3 separate regions of the Homo sapiens genome follow, and regions 2 and 3 are each linked to region 1. The links are contacts of gene promoters, found by promoter capture Hi-C in blood cells and fetal thymus (Javierre and others, 2016). All regions are on one chromosome and are shown on one strand. Each heading gives the region's core, a stretch centred on a gene start or on the middle of the fragment in contact. The rest is flanking DNA. Distances are from core to core; before and after follow the strand shown. Region 1 holds the start of ZNF571-AS1 (ZNF571 antisense RNA 1). Region 2 has its middle 67 kb from the start of ZNF568. Region 3 has its middle 32 kb from the start of ZNF345.

Region 1 (3,230 bases), core at 157-2,656:
GCTACGGCTGGCTACCTCTCATTCTATGTGAATCATGCAGCCATCTGATGCAATGGGGAGACCAAGAGTTTCCTTATTGGGGAAAGCTACGGGCACCCACGGTTCCAAGAGCATCACAGCTACCCAGTCATTAAGAAATGTGAGTGTTGAGAAGGAAACACTCATCACCTACGTCCCCGCCAAGGTGGTCCTGGACGAACTGGGAAACATTTGCTGTGAAGGACGTTCTGGAGGACTGTGAGCCAGACCAAGGAAAACCTGGGCCGACGAGAATCAGGGAAGGCAAGAAAAGAGGGAGAACAGAGTAGAGGCCGCAGCCCAGGCAGGATCAATCCATCCCACTCCCATGTGCCTCGGGGAACCAGGGTCCAACAGGGGACCTGGCCAGAAAGGCGACAGTCTTCGGTCCAAAGGTTCTCCGAACACTCGTGTCTTCTATCGCCAGCACAGCGCCATGGTGTGGACAGGTTGTACAGTGAAGAGGAAAAGGGGATGGCGTTGGAAACAGTTTCTTTGACATCTGTCTGCACCTGTTCTGCAGGTGAAGGTGCGAGACCTCCTCCACACCTCAGCGGATTGTATCTTCACCCCCATCTGACCTTTTTTCTGCACACATCCTTTAATCCAGAATGAAATCTGAAGAGGATGAAGGAGTGCCCGCCTCAGGTCCTGAAGCTGCGACTCCGCCAGCCACCGAATTAGAAGTGGGCTCAAGGGGGTACTGAGGACAGGACAGCTAGGGTCCGTCCAGCCTTGGGTGTGCCGCAGGACCATGGGCCCCTGGAGGAATTTGTTCTTGGTTGTCGTGTGCTGGTCTTCTTTCTGGAAGAGTGGGCGGCTTGGGAGGGGAGGTGATTTGGACGTTTGCGGGTCGCAGCCAGCCCCCCACTTCACCGAGGCTTTAGGAACCAAGAGCGAAACAAAGAACGCTTGCCCCGCAACCCAAGCCCGGCCAAAGAGACGGGCGCATCAGAGCGTAGGCGAACTACAGAGAAACCGCGCTTCACTGCACGAGCCACATTTCTTTCACCGCACACCACACACACACTCACACGCACACACAGAAAGACACACGGAAACATCCAACAGTCGCACAGAAACACACACAGCCAGGCAGCTCCTGAGGCTGCGCGGTTCTGCTCTCTGCCAGGAAACCCCTCCGGAAAGAGAGCGCCCCGGGGAACACAGGCAGGCCGTACCTCGAAATCCCAGCGGGGACACCTGTCAGGGAGACGCACCCTCACACCGCCCATGCATGCCCGACGCATCTTTGGGATCCTTAGGGATCACGTGGTGCTTCCTTGAATCTCCGCTTGAGGTTTCTTCAGGCAGGTTCGGCCTTGCCCGACTCCTAGGATCGCAGGACCATGGCGACGATCCCGCGGAGAGGGGACGCACTGCCACAGACGCCTGGGGGCCAAGCCGCTGGGGCCAGTCCCCCGGCAACGGTGGCGGTTACTGTGACGCGAGTCCCCCCTCAGCGCTAGCGCCTGGTGATCGCGCCTGGTACGTGCACTTTCGCGTTCCCGGTTTGTGGGCCGCATTGTCAGGGCTCTCAGGCTGCAGCCCAATAGGAAAACAGTGGAGGCCGTGCAGGCGGCGGTTCGGGGAAGGAGACTGCATGCGACAAGCAGCGCAGGACCCTGACTGTCGTGACCTCAGTGCCTCCTTGAGCCGACCTCGTGTTTGGGTCCGGGTGTAGGAGGAGGTGCTTCAGACCGTGAGGTGGGCACTCGGGATTGCTCTTCTGATTTGATTCTGGACTGGAATCAAATTGGAATTGACCCGGAATTGGGTCCCACGGGGCTGGGGAACCAATCTGGTGAGGTGTGGAGGGGTCGCTGGTGCACAGAAACATACCGGATACCCTCGGGGTGGGTGTCAGCAGAACATTCCTCGGCTCCATGAGCTGACTGCCTCCCTTTGATCTGGGCCTCCCAGGGCTCTTCCTGCGTCTCCAAGCTCAGGGGCTCCTGCTTCTCAGCACTGCTGTCTGGAAAAGGCGGGAACGAGGACTAAGGCAAGCCCAGTGTGGGGCAGAGATGGCAACACCTGGAACTAGCTTTTCATGGGGGCAGATAATGTGGAGAGTGTCCCAATTACATCTCCCTTTATTCTATCCCATACTACTAAACCCCACCAGCTATTTGCCTACAAACTGTGTATCAGTCAGGACATCAGGACACCAAGATAAAGGACTAGAGTTTGGTAATCAACTACTGGCTCCTCCAGCAGCTCAGAATGTGGCCTGTATGCATCACTTCACTTAATTCATTCAAGAAATGCTGACTGAGTTCCTGCTGTGTGTTGGACACTTTCTTAGAAGTGGGACACACTGCAGTGTGTGGGACAAAGGCTGGGCCGCTCATTGCTTATGTTCTAGTTGAAGAGAGAGTCAATCAACAACATTCTACTTTCAGACATTGATAAATGCTGTCATGAAAAGACAAGGAACATGAAAAGGTAAGAAAAGGGATGGAGAGAGATGGGATGAGGGGTGCCTGGGCAGACAATGCAATGATCTGGCAAAAGAGTAGGACAATCATGAGACTGCATGTGTTCCAGTTTCTGCTGCTGTAAAACAGCATCCACAGGTTACATCTTTACTATTCTGTTACATACATACTATTATTTAAATAAAAAATAGTACTAGTTAACTGTGAAAATTGCAATTAATAGGGCAGATTAAACAAATCCTTTAAATTTAAACAAATGTTTTATGGTTTTTTATCCTCTGATACATTGTTTCAACTTTAAAAAACCCTCTTTATTTGATATTTAAACTCTATATTAATGTATATTCTTAAGATACATAAATTTAAGATTTTTTTCGAGACAGGGTCTCATTCTGTCACACAGTCTGGAGTGCTGTGGTGCAATTATGGTTCACTGCAGACTCCACCTCTCCAGGCTCAGATAATCCTCCTGCCTCAGACTCCTGAGTATCTGGGACCACAGGTGTGCATCACCACACCCAGCTAATTTCTTGTATTTTTTTGTTGGGATGGGGTTTTGCGATGTTGCCCAGGCTGGTCTCAAACTCCTGGGCTCAAGTGATCTGCCTGCCTTGGTGTCTCAAAGTGTTGGGATCACAGGCGTGAGCCACCACATCCAGCCTAATTTAAGATTTTTAAAAAGCAGAATGTAAATATGGTCATGCATTGTGTAATTCTGTGGATACTTTCTGAGTAATGCATGGTTAGGTGACTTCATCATTATGTGAACATTAT
Region 2 (3,570 bases), core at 89-2,588, 570 kb after region 1:
CAAACACCAAAATCAGAGAGAAATTTACTATTTAATTCCATCTAAAGGAAAGTGATCCCAGATGGAGAGCTTGACATGTAAGAAAGAATGGTGAACCAAGAAAGTCGTAAATACATGGATAATCTAAGATAACACTCAATACATAAAATAAAAATTTCTTATGGGTTAAAAAAAGAAGAAAAATACCTGACAATAATGTAAGTTGTTTGATTAGTTAGAATATATCCTACTTCCTTATTTACCAAGAATATAATAATATTTTTTAGTTTTAGACACTAGTAAGTTAAGAAAGTATATTGAAATTTTCAAGGTAACCACTAAATAAACACAAATAGCTTATAACTTTCAAACTCATAGAAGGGAAAATGAAATGAAGATAATGAAATACAGAAAAGGTAGAATTAAAAGCACAAAAATGATACCTTCAATTATATTAGTAATTACAAGCACTGTAAATGACTAAATACTCTCGTTAAAGAACAAAGCTGGTCGCCAGGTGCGGTGGCTCATGCCTGTAATCCCAGCACTTTGGGAGGCCGAGGTGGGGGGATCATGAGGTCAGGAGATCGAGACCATCCTGGCTAACACGGTGAAACCCCCTCTCTACTAAAAATACAAAAAAATTGGCCAGGCGTGGCGGCATGCACCTGTAATCCCAGCTACTCGGGAGGCTGAGGCAGGAGAACTGCTTGAACCCAGGAAGTGGAGGTTGCAGTGAGCCGGGATCGCACCACTGCACTCCAGCCTGGGCGACAGAGCGAGACTCTGTCTCAACAAAAAAAAAAAAAAAAAAAAGGACAAAGTTGGTCAAAGTTGTCAAAAACCAAAGCCCAGCTCTACGCTGGTTATTAGAGACACATCCAAAACATAAATATTCAGAAAGATGACAGTTAGAAAAGGATAATTTTATGCTTACCTAATAAATAATAAATACATATTATATATACATACACATATGCATAAATGAAATAGAAACTCTAATAGACGAACCCTAATCACAGTGGCAGATTTTAACAAAACACTAGAAATAACTGATAGATACAACAGACAAAAAGTCAGTAAAAACAGAATATTTAGATACTAAATTAAGCTTGATCTAATGGCTGCATATAGAACAATGCACTCAATTCAAATAACATTCTTCTCAATCATATATGGAAGATTTTGAAAAACTGACCACCCTGGACCTTAACAAAAGAGAAAAACATTTTGCATGAATGAATACATACTAAGAAAACGATGCACATTAACACGACTGCCTTATGGGCGGGGGGAGGATGCGGGTAGTAAATGGCATAGAAGACAGGGAATAAACAAATAATCTGAAGAGTGGCCTTGCTCACACCATTGATAACATGAGTACTCCCAGATCCTACCATGGGAAAAAGAAAAGGAAAACTGATATATTTTATGAGGCTAGACCAGAGGTCAGCAAACTTTTTTTGTCAAGGGCCAAATAGTAAGTATCTTAGGCTCTGTGGGACATACCATCTCTGCTGCAACTCCTCAACTCTGCCATGCAGCACAGAAGCAGCCATAGATGTTACATAAATGGATGAATGTGGTTATGTTCCAATAAAGCTTTATTCATGAACACTAAAATTTGAATTTCATATAATTTCCATGTGTCATAAAATATAATTCTTTTGATTATTTCCCCCAACCATTTAAAAATGTAGAAAACAATCTTGGTTCACAGGCCAAGGCCACAGTTCTCCTGGGATAGAGTAACTTGTATAAAGACATTATGAAGAATTGAAATTACTGGCCAGTCTTACACATGCCACAGATTTAAAATTCTAAGCAAGTTATTAGCAAACTGAATCCAGTAATATGTAAAAATTCATCACACATCATGGCTAAGTTAGGTTTTTCCCAATAAAGGTGTACATGATACTGGAAATAAATTAAAATTATTAGGCACGTTAACAGATTAAAGAGAAAACACTTAGGATCATTTCTTTTCTTTTCTTTTTCTTTTTGAGATGGAATTTTGCTCTTGTCACCCAGGCTGGAGTGCAATGGCGCGATCCTGGCTCACTGAAACCTCTGCCTCCCAGGTTCAAGCGATTCTCCTGCCTCAGCCTTCCAAATAGCTAGGATTACAGGCACCTGCCACCTCGCTCGGCTAATTTTTTGTTGTTGTATTTTTAGTAGAGATGGGGTTTCACCATGTTGGCCAGGCTGGTCTCGAATTCCTGATCTCAGGTGATCTGCTCGACTAAGCCTCCCAAAGTGCTGGGATTACAAGCATGAGCCACCACACCTGACCAATCAATTCAATGGATGCAGAAAAGGCATTTTAAAAATGCAATATTCCTTCATGATAAAAACTCAAGAGCGAATTAGCAATAAAAAGCAACGTCCCTAACCTGATAAAGGACACCTACAAAAAAAACAAGTGCAAACATAAGTAAAAGTGAAGTATCTAAAACTGTGAATAAGACAGGGTGCCCATATTCACCATTCAAAACTGTTCTGGGAGGTGGAGCCAGTGCAGCAAGATAAGAATTAAAATAAAGGTTAAAAAAGAAGAAAAGAAATCAATACTAATAGACAAAGACAATTATTTACAACCAAAAAGTATCTTTATTCATCAATGATATGATCAAGTTGGATGACCCCACATCCAAAAGAATCTACAAGACGTCAGAATAAATAAGAGTTAAGCAAGGTGGGGGGATATAAAATCAATATCTCAAAATCAACTGCAATAATCTGTCATAGGAGTTTTAAGAAAAAAAAAAATCAATGGCAAGTCTATATACCAGAAACAATGAGAAAATTATATTTTATTTTATTTACTTTTTTTTTTGAGACTGGGTCTTGCTCTGTCACCCAGGCTGGAGTGTAGTGGCATAATCATAGCTCACCGCAGCCTCATCCTCCTGGGCTTGAGTGATTCTCCTACCTCAGCCTACCAAGTAGCTGGGACTACAGGCATGCACCATCATGCCTGGCTAATTTTTTATTTATAGTAGAGATGGGGTCTCACTATGTTGCCCAGGCTGGTCTCAAACTGCTGGGCTTAAGTGATTCGCCTGCCTCGGTCTCCTTACGTGTTGGGGTTACAGGCGTGAGTCACAGCACCCAGTCTATATTCTAAAGTTAATGTCATCTAAGAAAAACACAAAATATAAAAATACCTGGAAATAAAATTAACAAAAGATGTGTAAGACTCTAATTATAAAATATTTATTGAAAACCATTCCACAAGACTCAAGTAAGCAGAGTTATTTAGAGGCAGAGGAAGACTCAATACCGTAAAAATGTCAACTTTCCCCAAATTGATCGAAGGTTTAATGCATTATAAATCATTATCCCAACTGGATTTCTACAGAAATTGATAAGCCAATTCTAAAATGTATATGAAGCCAAAACCTAGGAACAGCTAAGACCTTTCTAGAGAACAGGACCATAGTAGAGGCATGTGACTTACCAAATATCAGACATTACTAGAAAGCAGTCTTTAGGCAGTATGGTTTAAATAGACAAACGGACGGACAGATTAGAAAGGAGAGCCCAGAATAGACAAACATATACATAGGGAAACTTAATTTATGACAGAAC
Region 3 (3,653 bases), core at 285-2,784, 670 kb after region 1:
GGGAGGCCCACTGGGGGTACTCTAGGCCTCTGGAATGTCCTGCCCAATAACAGTGTCTTGGTTTGGCTGGGTGCTTTGGATGGCCACCCGACAGTATAACATGATTTATGATGAGTGCTTTGAGGCATGCTATCTCAGTTTTGACTTCTGGGGAAATGGCAGACAAACAGTATTAGACAAACCAGCAAGAAGGGCAGAAAGACAAAGGTCAGCTATGTGGGCAGTATATTATCAAACCCCAAGAAAAACACTGGAAACCAAAGGCTAAGGTGAGCTTCCCTGGATTGCAACACTTATCAGTACACATTGTAGCTGGAAGGAGGTAATGCCATCCAGGACTCCATAGGGATAGGATGACCAGAAGACTCATCTTTGGACCCCTCTCAGACTTCATTCTATGTGTCTCTTCCTCTGGCTAGTTGTAATTTGTATCCTTTCACTATAATAAGGTTGTAATCATAGGCCAGGTGCGGTGGCTCATGCCTGTAATCCCAGCACTTTGGGAGGCTGAGGTGGGCAGATCACTTGTGGTCAGGAGTTCAAGACCAACATGGTGAAACCTCGTCTCTACTAAAAGTACAAAAATTTAGCTGGGCATGGTGGTGGGTGCCTGTAATCCCAGCTACTCACGAGGCTGAGGCAGGAGAATCGCTTGAACCCAGGAGGCGGAGGTTGCAGTGAGCCGAGATCGTGCCACTGCACTCCAGCCGGGGCAACAGGAGCAAGACTCTGTCTCAAAAAAAATAAAAATAAATAAGTTGTAATCATAGGTATAGTATTATCTTGAGTTCTGTGAATTATTATACTGAATTATCAAGGGTAGTCATGACAAGTCCCAAATTTGTAGTCAGCTGGTCTGAAGTATGGGTAGCCCTTGGAACCTCTGAACTTGTGCCTGGTGTCTGAAATGAGGGCAGTCTTGTGGAAACTATTCCTTCAGACTTCAGTTTCTCTAACTCAGTGCAATTCCCATAAAACACTACATAAATAAAAATGAATATTATGTCTGAGAGAGCCATCCTTATTGTTGCATGAAATAATGTTGAGCAAAAGAAACCAGACACAAAAAGGGTTCAGCGTACGATTCCATTTACATGAAGTGGAAAAACATGTAAGCTTATCTCTGGTTATGGAAATTAGGAGAGGGGCTATTTCTGGGCAATGGAATATTAATAGCAAAGCAGCACAAAGAAGCCTCCTTAGGCTGTAAATGTATATCAGTCTGGGCAGTGCTTACATAGGTGTACAATATTACTTCATCAAGTTTAACACTTAGAATTTATGCTATTGCCACCAGTATTTTATATACCTAAATAAAAATAATTCAAGTAGTGTAGAGAAGGCTACTGAACGTAGTGAGTGTGGAGTTCAAGGGAAACAAACCCACGGGGGTGAAATCACCAAGGAACAATTAAGTATAATTAGTAAATGTGTCAGAGGCTGAGTCTTAGAAAACTTCAATCTTTAGGGAACAGAGAGATGAAGAGAAACGATGCATTAAATGACCATGACGAGTAGCTACATAGGAAAGAGCAACAGAGTTTGAGAATTTTAGTTACTTTTCTGCTCTTTAATAGAAAAAGATATTTTAAAAGGTGATTTCATAGAAATTGAGTAAGCCTGCCTATAGATATATGGTGTTCTCCAATTAAAATACAAAAACAAATTGGGTTAAAAATAAAACACTAACTATATGGTGTTTATAAGGATATATACCTAGAACAAGCTGACACAACAGACCTAGTGCAGCTCTACTGGCCAAAGCAGAATTTTCAATATTAGAGAAATTGGAATTCAACATCACAGTGAAAAATACAGCAACCAAACATAAAAAGTAAAACCCCTATATTAACAGAAGACCTTGAAACAATATAGCTGGGCGTTTTGTGCCCACTTTTCAGAATTAAACAAAATAATCAGAGGATATTTAAATAATATAATCACGAAGCTTAATATAATTAAGTAGAACTTTGTGTTTTATAGAGAATATATATTATTTCACATCATATATCTATAAAATGTATTAAAAACCTAACGTATATTTGGCCACAAATAATAAATTAATGTTTTAACTTTTTAATGAAGTTTCACAGATCACACACATTATAAGTTCATATGCTAAATTTTTTTCACAGGTTTTTGAAAATTTAGAAACACACACAAACATACAGACACCTAGGTAACTAGTGAATCAAAGAGAAATCAAGATTAAAATAATAATTATCTAGAAGTTAATTTTTAAAAAACTATGGGGCCAGGTGCAGTGGCTCACGCCTGTAATCCCAGCACTTTGGGAGGCCGAGGCGGGCGGATCACGAGGTCAAGAGATCGAGACCATCCTGGCCAACATGGTAAAACCCCGTCTCTACTAAAAAATACAAAAATTAGCCAGGCGTGGTGGCGCATGCCTGTAGTCCCAGCTACTCAGGAGGCTGAGGCAGGAGAATCACTTGAACCTGGGAGGCGGAGGTTGCAGTGAGCCGAGATCACGCCACTGCACTCCAGCCTGGTGACAGAGCGAGACTCCATCTCAAGAAGAAAAAAAAACCATGGGCCCCAGATACAGCAATATTCAAAGGAAATCTTGTAGCCTTAAATGCTTCCAATTTAAAAGAGACTGAAAATATATTAACCAAGCACATGTACTCAACAGAAATACACACAAATAAAAAGAAAATAGTGAAATATATTTTTGAAATAGAAAAAGCAAACAAAAATAGTCAAAAGCATGAAGAAAACCCAGATAAGGTTTTTTTTAAAAAAAAAACAAGTAAAATGAATGGGACTCCTTCAAATCAATTTAGAGGAATAAAGTGGTTTAAAAATAAAACTATGAGTAGAAATACAAATATATATACAGAGACTGAAAACTGAAAGCCAATTCTGTTTGCCAATATCAACGAATTTGAAAATCTAAAGAAAAGGAACCATTAAAATCATTGATGAAGTAGTTTATCAGTTCTAAAATGCACTTTTTACCCCGCATTTTAATGTCTCTGAAAGTGGGTTTCAATATATATCTCCAACAGATTAATCTGCAGGACTTTAAAAATTAGTTTCATATTTAAAGTGATGTATTTTATATGTAGCATCTTAAGATTTCATGTTACTTTAGTCTGTTTTTAATGATTCCTATTCCATTCTTTTTAAAAATTAAAAAATCTAATTACCTCAAATTAAAAAGACATAAAATATACTAATGCTGATATATTTTCATCTTTTGCTCTTTCCAATGCAAAATGTGATTGAATGCCAGAATATTCACTCAAGGGACCTGACTGGGGGGTATAAAAGAGACTTTGGCTACAGGGTTTTTTTCCCCAGCCTTCCTAGATATAGTTTTTGCTTTATATCCCTTATATAATACCCATTTCTATGCCACTTTGAGTCAGTTCTGGTGATTAAAATCCTTTTACTAAAATGTTCAATTTTCAAAATAATTATTAAAAGGTTACATGTAATCGTAATAAACATAAGCTGAGTATCCCTCAAAATGCTTGGGACCAGAAGTGTTTTGGATTTTGGAATATTTGCATTATATTTACCAGGTGAGCATACTTAATCCAGAAGTCTGAAATTATCTTTGAGCATAATGTTGAGCTCAAAAAGTTTTGGAATTTGGAGCATTTCAGATATTGAATTTTCAAATTAAG

Evidence for each region. The method cuts DNA at HindIII sites, captures the fragments that hold promoters and counts their contacts. A CHiCAGO score of 5 or more calls a contact.
Region 2: a contact is called between a fragment that was not itself captured here and the fragment with the promoter of ZNF571-AS1 in region 1, in 1 of 17 cell types (naive B cells). The highest score is 5.5, in naive B cells.
Region 3: a fragment that was not itself captured here is called in contact with the fragment with the promoter of ZNF571-AS1 in region 1 in 1 of 17 cell types (monocytes); the score reaches 5.2 in monocytes.

The regions. Positions count from the first base shown.
Region 1 is chr19:37,547,125-37,550,354 of GRCh38, reverse strand. It overlaps ZNF571-AS1 (ZNF571 antisense RNA 1), which reads right to left and starts at 1,406. Exons shown (of 6, transcript NR_038248.1): 1 at 1,200-1,406. LOC124904708 reads left to right here. Exons shown (of 2, transcript XR_007067248.1): 1 at 1-2,463. The HindIII fragment of the contact is 14,204 bases long and covers 1-3,230 here.
Region 2 is chr19:36,981,119-36,984,688 of GRCh38, reverse strand. It overlaps a transcript of ZNF568 not described here. Among named protein-coding and RNA genes, the nearest start is that of ZNF568, 67 kb to the right of the region's middle. The HindIII fragment of the contact is 491 bases long and covers 1,093-1,583 here.
Region 3 is chr19:36,881,166-36,884,818 of GRCh38, reverse strand. It overlaps a transcript of ZNF345 not described here. Among named protein-coding and RNA genes, the nearest start is that of ZNF345, 32 kb to the right of the region's middle. The HindIII fragment of the contact is 832 bases long and covers 1,119-1,950 here.